Regions from separate parts of the Homo sapiens genome. Here region 1 is linked to region 2. Evidence: promoter capture Hi-C in 16 types of primary human blood cells and fetal thymus (Javierre and others, 2016). All regions are on one chromosome and are shown on one strand. The core of a region is centred on a gene start or on the middle of the fragment in contact, and the rest is flanking DNA. Distances in the headings are between cores, read along the strand shown.

Region 1 (4,689 bases), core at 1,560-4,059, 75 kb before region 2:
CTTGTTATAAAATAAAACAAAACTTCCAACATATACAAGTGTAGAGAGGTACAGATAGTATGATGAATCCCTATGTACTCATCACCAGCTTAAACATTTATCAACTCACAACCGATTCTATTTTATCTATATCTCTACCAATTACCCTACTCTCTGGAGTATTTTGAAGCAAATGCATTATTTCACCTCTAAATATTTTTATATCTATATAACATAGTATAATAATTTAATAATATTACATTATTGTTGTTATGGAATATTTCACATAGAATCAGAAAGCAGTATAATAAATACCTATATACCAACTACCTAGCTTTGTCAAAAACTTCAGCCATATTTTTTCAGATTCTGTAAAAGCCCCTGTGTGATTTACCCAGTTTCTATCACCTTCCTCCTTCCCCAGATAGCCATTATCCTGAATTGTATCATTCCTATGCAGGGTTTGTTTTGTTTTGTTTTGTTTTTTATGGGGAAGGGGTTGTTTCGTTGTTTGGTTTTGGGGGGTTTTATTTTGTTTTGTTTTGAGACAGGGTCTCACTTTGTCACCCAGGCTGGAGAGCAGTGGTGCGCTCATGGCTCACTGCAGCCTCAAACTCGTGGGCTCAAGCAATTCTCCCGCCTCAGGTTCCCAAGTAGCCTCTACCACCATGCCCGGCTAATTTTTATATTTCTTTGTAGAGACAAAATTTCGCTGTGTTGCCCAGGCTGGTCTTGAACTCCTGGGCTCAAGCAATCCACCCGCATCAGCCTCTGAAAGTGCTGGGATTATAGGTGTGAGCCACCGCACCTGGCCTTTATGCAGGTTTTTACACTATATATGTATCTGTATATGTACATGATATTGCTTTACATGTTTTTAAACCTTATTAAAAAATGGCCTCATTCTAGGCTTTCCCCTAAGAGTGTGGAGTTACAGAAGTAAAGCAGAAAACAGTGTTTTAGGAGAAGCATAATAACCTACAGTATCAGATGGCAAAGAGAGATCAAATAAGATTAGAAACTGCAAAGGCCCACTGGCCCTCATGCCAAGGGATTCTGGTGCCCTCCAAGACAGCAGCTGCAGGGAAGCAAATCCCAGATGCTGCAGGCTGGGGCAGTCAGGACAACATGGACTTGGAGACAGCCCCTTCAAAAAGCGTGGCTGTGAAGAAGGGCGGGGGTAGTAGGGGTCGTAGATAGAAAGTAAGAACTGCTGGTTTTGTTTTTTGCTTTTTGGGTTTTTTTGAGATGGAGTCTAACTCTGTTGCCCAGGCTAGAGTGTAGTGGCATGATCTCAGCTCACTGAAACCTCCACCTCCCGGGCTCAAGTGATTTTCCCACCTCAGCCTCCCAAGTAGCTGGGATTACAGGTGCTTGCCACCACATCCAGCTAATTTTTGTATTTTTAGTAGAGACTGGGTTTCACTATGTTGTCCAGACTGGTCTTGAACTCCTGACCTCAGGTGATCTGCCTGCCTTGGCCTCCCAAAGTGCTGGGATTACAGGCATTAGCAGCCACCATGCCTGGCTGAACTGGTGGGTTTTAAAGCTAGGAGAGAGTTGAGTCTGTGTGCAAGATAACAGAAGTTGACAAGTTCTCCATGCCCAAGAAGGTGGGGAAAGGCAAGCTGGATGAAAAAAGATCTTGAACAAGGAAGGAACAGCCCCTTTTCTGTGCTAACAGGAAAAAAGGAGTGGGGCAGGCGTGTCTGTCAATGATTCTTATACTTGAATTCCCATCAAAATCACTTGGAAGGCTTATTAGCACAGAGATTGCTGGGCTTTACCCCCAGAGTTTCTGATTCGGTAGGTCTGAGGTTGGTCTGAGAACCTGCATTTCTAACAAGTTCCCAGGTGATGCTGATGCTACCAGTCCTAGGACCTCACTTTGAGAACCACTGGAAGAAAATGTGTAGGCAGGATGACAGAAACTTAAGCAAGCTTCCAAGTTATGTTTTTTATTTTCTCTTGGAAATTGTGAGGTCATTTGCTGCAAAAGAAAGGGAGCAGTGGTGAAATTGAAGGTATGAGGAGAGTAAAAAAAAAAAAGAAAACCCTCCAGCCAGGCATGGTGGCTCATGCCTGTAACCCTGGCAACTCAGGAGGCAAAGGTGGAAGGATTGCTTGAGACCCAGGAGCTCAAGACCAGCCTGGGCAACAGAGCAAGTCCCTGTCTCTTTAAAAATAAAATAAATAATAAATAATTAACAAGGCGTGGTGGTGCACGCCTGTAGTCCCATCTACTTCACTTGAGCTCATGGGGTTTCAGGCTGCAGTGAGCTCTGATCATGCCACTGCACTCCAGCCTGGGCGACAGAGTGAGACCCAGACTCAAAACAAAAAGCAAACAAACAAATCTCCAAAGCCTACTCACTTGCTGTTGGCATTCCCTTTAGAGCCTATTGAGGCCGGGCTCTCCAAAGATAATTACTTAATCGACCATTAACTGATTCAGCTATTCTATGCTTGTGCTAACCCAACATTAGACTAAAATTTGAACTGTTGGACAGCATGGTCAGGATGGGGATGAGGCAGACAAGGTTTGGGGAAAACTATTCCAGTTCCTTCCATTCTTCACTTAAATTTCTGATTTCTTTTTTTGTTTGTTTGTTTTCTTGGAGACGGAGTCTTGTTCTGTCGCCCAGGCTGGAGTGCAATGGCACTATCTTGGCTCACTGCAACTTCCGCCTCCCAGGTTCAAGCTATACTCCTGCCTCAGCCTCTAGAATAGCTGGGATTACAGGTGTGCGCCACCACACCCGGCTAATTTTTGTATTTTTAGTAGAGACAGGGTTTCACCATGTTGGCCAGATGGTCTTGAACTCCTGACCTCAGGTGATCCACCCACCTCGGCCTCCCAAAGTGCTGGGATTACAGGCATGGGCCACCGTGCCTGGCCAAATTTCTGATTTCTAATTTGCCCTCAAGCTCTGTAACCCTATGAGAATCCGGGCAGATCATTTCTACAAAAGTAGACTCTCCAGGTTCTGGGCAGAAGACCCACCTCCCGCCCCCTCGTCCTCCCCCAACCCCCGGCCCCACTCCCCCTTCCCTCCCTCCCCTCCCCCTCCTCCCCTCCCCCCCCCGTCCTGAGCAGCTTCCTGTTACACACACCCCCACCCACCCACCCCAGTCCTGAGCAGCTTCCGGTTACGGGTACCTCGCAGGCCTTGATGTGCTCACTCTGCCACTCTTCTCGGACCTTATCCAGGGTGCCGATGTGCAGCATGTATGCTTTGTCTGCAACAGAAGGGAGAGACCTGGGTCAGAAACTAGACAGGAAGGTGGCTCGCAGATACACCCACAGGCTGGTCTCAGATGGCAAAAGAAACTCATCCGAGTTGTGCTGAGCTTACAAGGCCCCCAGGACTCTGAGCACTGGGAGTTATTGCATCTCTCACCCTCATCATATTTGGTGAAGTAGGCAAAGGAGGGTATCACTTTCTTTTTAAACATTGGACCTAACATTGAGAAAGAAAGGTTCTAAGGAAGAAGTGAAAGCTGATAAGAAACCTCAGCCAGGGTTTTGTTTGTGTAATTCCACCTCAGTATTTCCCATCGCTTTTCATTTTCAAAATTGTCTGATGAAGGATGCAGAGAAGAGAACTACCTTGAGCCCTAAAGGGGCACCAAGTTACTTTAGTTTCAAATGTAGAGATTAAGATGTACATAACCACCACAGTCATGAGGGATATTTCCTGCAGGATATTCTGGGAATTAGAAGCTTTTGCAAATGCCTGGTTTGGGTCTTAGATTTCAGTGATAACAAGGCCTTGCAGCTTGGCTGTTTCACAGCAGATAAGAGCTACCGGGGCTGAAATGGTCTTTTAGATAGATGCCCCAATACATCAGAGGAAGCACCTGATTGCAAAGCCGCTACCACATGACTCCACCATCTCACTCCCATGTAAGGCAGCAAGATCTAAGCAGACAGAAGCCAGAAACAGTGGCCTCATAGCCTCCTCCCACCTTCCGGGGTTCTAATATACCCTCCCTTCCTCTCTCCTCTTCTTTCCTTTCCTCCCTCCCTTCCTTACTCTCTCCCTTCCTTCCTCCCTTTTTCCCTTCAGATATCTCACTAATCCTGCTGAATATCCATATATTCTCTCTTTAAGGTATATAAAACTCCCTTTCTCAGGGACACATTTAGGATAACGTAAACCCCACCAGCAACCCTCCCCCATCCGTAGGAACTGCCCCCTCACCTGAGTCCTCTACTGCGGTCTTTGAAGTTGCCAGTTTCACAAAAAGCTGTGAAAACAAACAAACAAACAAAAAAAGAGCAAGCATTGGGAATGCTGGACGAGGCTTCCACAGGCAAAACAGATTGAAAAGCAGTAACTATGAAGAGACCAGGTCTAGTGCAAGTCCTGTGTACATTTCCCTCATGAGCAAATCATTCAACGTGCCCTGCAATCTTATCAATCTTGGAAAATATCCATAAAGCATCTTGCCCAGTGTCTTCCTAAAGACACACCCAGCCCTCTGGTTGCAGAAATCTTGTATCTAGATTTTACAAAGTTAAATTTGTAATCCACCCAAGCAAAAGGCAGCCTGACTACAAAGAATACATGAACTGAGTCTTTAAGAAAAATGACAACAACTGGGAAATCCCTCCAACCTCTTATCACCCCATCTCCCTCCCTCATAGCCATGCTTCTGTCGCTCTTCCCCTAACCCCCAAATATGTGGCAGTGGTTTTTCAGGTTC
Region 2 (4,682 bases), core at 1,776-4,275:
CTGGTGTCTGATCATCCCAAAAACTGGAATTTTTTCTCATTGTGGCCTGGCTGTTTCCCTGGATCTTTGGAAACTGTGGTCACTGTCTTATTCTGACAAGATACAATCAAAGTTAACCAAGAGAAATTATACAGCACTGCTTAACCAAAGTGCCACAAAGAAGGTATAAACAGGGAAGGGTGGGAGAGAAACAACACACAGGTATGTACCAATAGCAGGCAAATTCATTGGGGGCCAATCCCAGTTTTATTCATTTATTTTAAAATGATTTTTAGAGACAGGGTCTCACTATGTTGCCCAGCCTCCTTAGTAGCTGGGACTACAGGCACACGCCAGCTCCAAGCCCAGTTTTAAACACTGATTATTCCCTTTTGAAGCAGATTCATCGAAGATTTCTTTAAATAAATATTTTCATGAAGCATTTAAATACATTCATTTATGAAGTGTGTATTGACTCATACTTTTTCAGGAACATGTACAAACACGTTTGACCACAGTCCTCTCACCTTCCTTGGAATGTCCCTCTCTTGGGCCTGTGATAGCTCTTTCCTGGTTGTATCCCTTCATCTCTTCCTCTATTTCTCTGTCCCCTTTCTCCTCCTCCATCAATAGAGGCATGCACTAAGAGTGCTTCTTTGTGGACTTCCGATCTCTTCATTCTTTCTCCTTGAATAACCATCACTCACTTCTTTTACTTGTCACCTCTACTGCTGATAATAATAGCTGGCAACTATAGGTGCTCTCTGTGTGTCAGGCACTGTACTAAACTCTCAAGTTTAATCCTCCCAACGGTCCTAAGGAGTAGACACTGTTATTATCCCCATTTTTATGTATGGAAAAACTGAGGCTTGGGGGCGGAAGCAGGCTGCCCAGGGTCACCTAGCTAGTAAGGGGCAGAACTGGATTCAAGCCCGGGCAGCCCACCTCAGAGGCTTCATGCTGTTCGGTAAGCTCTCAAAACTGGACATCTTCCCAAGGGGCGGGGCCATCTCCACCAGCCCCTCAAACCCTGCATGTCACCCACCAGACATTAGAGAGTACTCACTGACATGTTTGTACTGGCTGTGAAGATATTAAAATACTGCAAACTCTGTGGCCTGGAACCCTGTCTTCACCCTGTCACCCTCTCCGCTAAGACCTCCCCGTATCCAGCATCCCTGGCATGGGGCTGAGGGGTGGAGGCTGGTGGGGAGGGGCTTAGCGCCCGCCTGGCCTTAGCCTTGCCAGTGCTAAAACTGTGGCTAAATACTGAGGATTGTGTTGTTTGGTTGGGTTTGTTTGTTTGTTCGTTTTTGAGACAAACACAAATCACTCTGTCGTCCAGGCTGGAGTGCAGTGATGTGATCATAGCTCACTGCAACCTCAAACTCCTGGCCTCAAGCAATCCTCTTGCCTCAGCCTCCCAAGTAACTATATCTACAGGCATGCACCACCATGCCCAGCTAATTTTTAAGATTTTTTTGTAGAGACAGACAGAGTCTCACTATGTTGCCCAGGGTGGTCTCGAACTCCTGGCCTCAAGCAATCCTCCTACCTCGGCCTCCCAACGTGCTGGGATCACAGGCATGAGCCACTGTGCCTGAACTAAATACTGTTAGTATCACGTCTGCCTCCTTCTCCTTATGTCTCCACGAACCAGTTCCTCTGCTGACTTCCTTATTTCTGGGGCCCACATCTCATTCTCCAGTTTGTATTATACAGAGCCTTTTTCCCACAGTGCCTGCCATGGGATCCCCCAGTCCTCCATTCTACCTGAAAAACTCGCAAGCCTCCCGTGAGAGCCATCTGTGGTGCCCTTGGTTCCTCTGTGAGGCTGCCACCACCCTGCACCCTAGGGTGAGTAGTGCCCCAGAAGGACCTCACAAACTCCAGTGAAGGGACTCACAGGCACAGTCTCAACTGTGTCCCTGAGGTCCCCAGCCAGGTTTCTCTACCCTGCAGCCCACGTGGGGTAGAGGGACCATCTAGGCAGCTGTGAAGCTACCTGGGTGGGTGGTGGGGGGAGGCAAGCAGGAGCCCCAGTAAGGAGTCAGGGCCCCTTGGCAGCTGCGGTCAACTTTGAGGTTTGCAGCCTCCTGCTCCTGTCTTAAAGGGATGAGGACAGCTCCTCTGAATGAGGGGGCATGGACCTTGAGGGGCACCTGGGGAGTGAGAGGACAGAGGGAAGAGGACTAGACAGAGGAGGGGGACAGGCAGACCTGCTCCCTCCAGGCTGGGCTGGCCCTACCGGGCTGGGTGGGGTACCCCCTCCAGCTTATAGGGTCTCCCACACCATCAGCCCCGCTATGGGGCCTGGACGGAAGGGCTGGGGCAATGGCCTGGGGAGGGGGCTCGGGAAACAAGGCTGTAGAACAGGGAAAGCTCCAGCAAAGGGAAGCCCTCTATGCTGTACGTTTCCTGGAAAGGACGATCCCGGGGGGCAGCTGCTGCTGTCAACCCGGTAAAGCTCACAAGCCCCCACACCAGATCCCCCCAGATCCTCTCACGGCTCAGCTCCAGGGACCGGCAGAGACTCTCCCCGGACGGGTCTCGCCTCCCTAAGGGTCTCTGCTTCGCCTGTGAGAGGAGGGGTTGATGTCCTGACTCTAAGGTGTCTCGGCTCTCTGCGTCCTCAGGAGCACGCGCTGCTGGGGGCGCGGGCGGCAGAGGGTGGGCCCTGGAGTCCGAGCCCCCGGGACTCGCGGGCACGCGGTGGGTAGCGGGGGACAGAGAGGGAACAGCAGCCCGGCGTCCGCTCCAAGTCTGCCCCTCGAGCAGTGGGGCTGGGGCCCCGATCCCTTCACGCGCGAGCTCCGCCAAGCCCCCGGGCGCGCGGTCACCGAGTGGCGCCGGAGCTGGGGAGCCCCCCACGCCCGCCGCGTTGGCCTCCCGCCCGGGCCGGGTCCTGAGCCCCGCGATCCGCTGTCGGCCCCACGACTTACCCAAAAGTTTCCCTTGAACAGTGAGCGCGTCATCGCAGCGCGAGTGGGGGCGCGGAGGAGAGCCGGGCCGCAGGTAGCACAGAGCGGGGAGGCCTGACTGCCACTGCCCGCGGCTCCGCAGACTCAACTTCTGCGTTCCACACTCGCGCAGGGAAGCCGCCCCCGGGTCCTAAACCACTCCCGATTGCGACGGCCGCCGTCGGCGCTCTGCGCTCCCTGCGCGAGACCTGGGCGGGACCCTCGGCGCTCACCCGGCCAGGGGCTGCAGCCCGCACCCGGACCCAGGCCCATTTAAAGCCCCACAGCGTCGGGCCACGATCAATATATCAGCCCGAAGCTAGCTGCCTCCTTCTGGAAGTCTTTGGGTATTGGAAATAACTGGTCCTGGCTTGGGTTCCTGCCCACAAGGCCCCCTGGACAGCACGAAATCCAGGCTCTGCGGGGTGATAGACGGGATCTGATCAGATGGTCGCGAGGACCCGGTTTAAGCTACAGAAGGCCTGGGGCCGACAACTCCCGCAGACGCCTTGGCTTCACGGCGGGCCCCACCGGCACCTGCTGCAGATCAGGCCCTGGGGGACGGTTCATTTTTTATTTTACTTTTTGTTGTTGCAGGTGTTTTTAATGAATGGGGTCACGTTTTAGTCTAAAATGTCATGGAGAGGTCATCTCTGCTGTTTCCCCTTGACTCTAGTCACTTGGTGGTGTCCTAACAGGGCTTCCAGGAGCTCAGCCGCTCTCTGACTCCCTTTCCATTCTCAAAAGGCAAGACCCTTCCCTGCCCATTCCACCCCAGCAAGAGGGGCCCAAGATTCCTTCTTCTCCCTCCACTCTTCCACCCTCACAAATAAAACCCCAGGGCAGGTCAGACCCCTCTCTGCATTGTAGTAGATTGGTACAAAAGTAATTGCGGTTTTTGCCATGACTTTTAATAGTAATGCAGGGCTTATGACAAAGTACTGCCTGGTGCGACAGGCCCGAAGCCCAACCTGAGGCCCAGAGGGGTTGAATGGCTTGCCCAAGATCACAGTTTATTTAAGGGATGAAGAGCTCAAGGTTAGAGCTCTGCCCTTCTAAATAGATGCAAAGACAGACATCCTTCCTGGGGCAGATCCATCCTGGGCAGAGGAATAGGTGCTCAAAGTGGGGAGGATAAAGGTCAAGGTTGCCAAGACTGGCACCAGCCCAGCCTGGAGAAGCAAGCACTCACCCCTGGAGCAGGTTCTAGCTACACCCAGACACAGTGAAAGGGCAATTGCTAGAATTATGTGAAGCACCTGGAACAAGTTCTGCTCCATAAAACTGCAGCCAGCCCCACTCAGATGAACTCCCACCAATAAAGTCATCCACAACTGCAAAGATGGAGAGGTGGCCTCCAGCCACCAAGCATCTCCAAGGGATGCATCCATTTACGTACTTGCTCATATCCTTTGAAAGCAGTGAGATTAGAAGGAAGGCAGAGAAGCCTGGCAGAACCATCAAGGGGCAGCAGAGGACGTGGTAGGCACTAGGAAGCTAGGCTTAACTGCAGGGGGTAAGAAATGGCACAAACTGGGGACATAGAAGCGGGAGAGCTGAAGACACCACTAAGGTTTTTCCTGGAAGTTTTAAATATTCTGGAAAAATAGTTTAGATACAATTCTAATTGTCACATTTTAATTTTTAATACATGTATAATTTTAAGTTATTAGAACGTTTCACAAGCTCTCACAGTACATTGTGCTTGATTTTCGCGACTCAGACTCTAAGCTCCCTGAATTT

The links. Contacts are between HindIII fragments. The CHiCAGO score rates a contact against its expected background, and 5 or more counts as called.
Region 1: a contact is called between a fragment that was not itself captured here and the fragment with the promoter of PSTPIP2 in region 2, in 1 of 17 cell types (M1 macrophages). The highest score is 5.4, in M1 macrophages.

Annotation. Positions count from the first base shown.
Region 1 is chr18:45,994,610-45,999,298 of GRCh38, forward strand. PSTPIP2 (proline-serine-threonine phosphatase interacting protein 2) reads right to left here. Exons shown (of 15, transcript NM_024430.4): 8 at 4,185-4,230; 9 at 3,140-3,219. Among named protein-coding and RNA genes, the nearest start is that of EPG5, 30 kb to the left of the region's middle. The HindIII fragment of the contact is 1,783 bases long and covers 1,919-3,701 here.
Region 2 is chr18:46,069,235-46,073,916 of GRCh38, forward strand. PSTPIP2 (proline-serine-threonine phosphatase interacting protein 2) reads right to left here and starts at 3,026. Exons shown (of 15, transcript NM_024430.4): 1 at 2,922-3,026. The coding sequence starts at 2,954. RefSeq lists enhancers at 1,512-1,611, 1,652-1,711, 2,931-3,432 and silencers at 2,562-2,941, 2,982-3,031, 3,162-3,321. The HindIII fragment of the contact is 16,135 bases long and covers 1-4,682 here.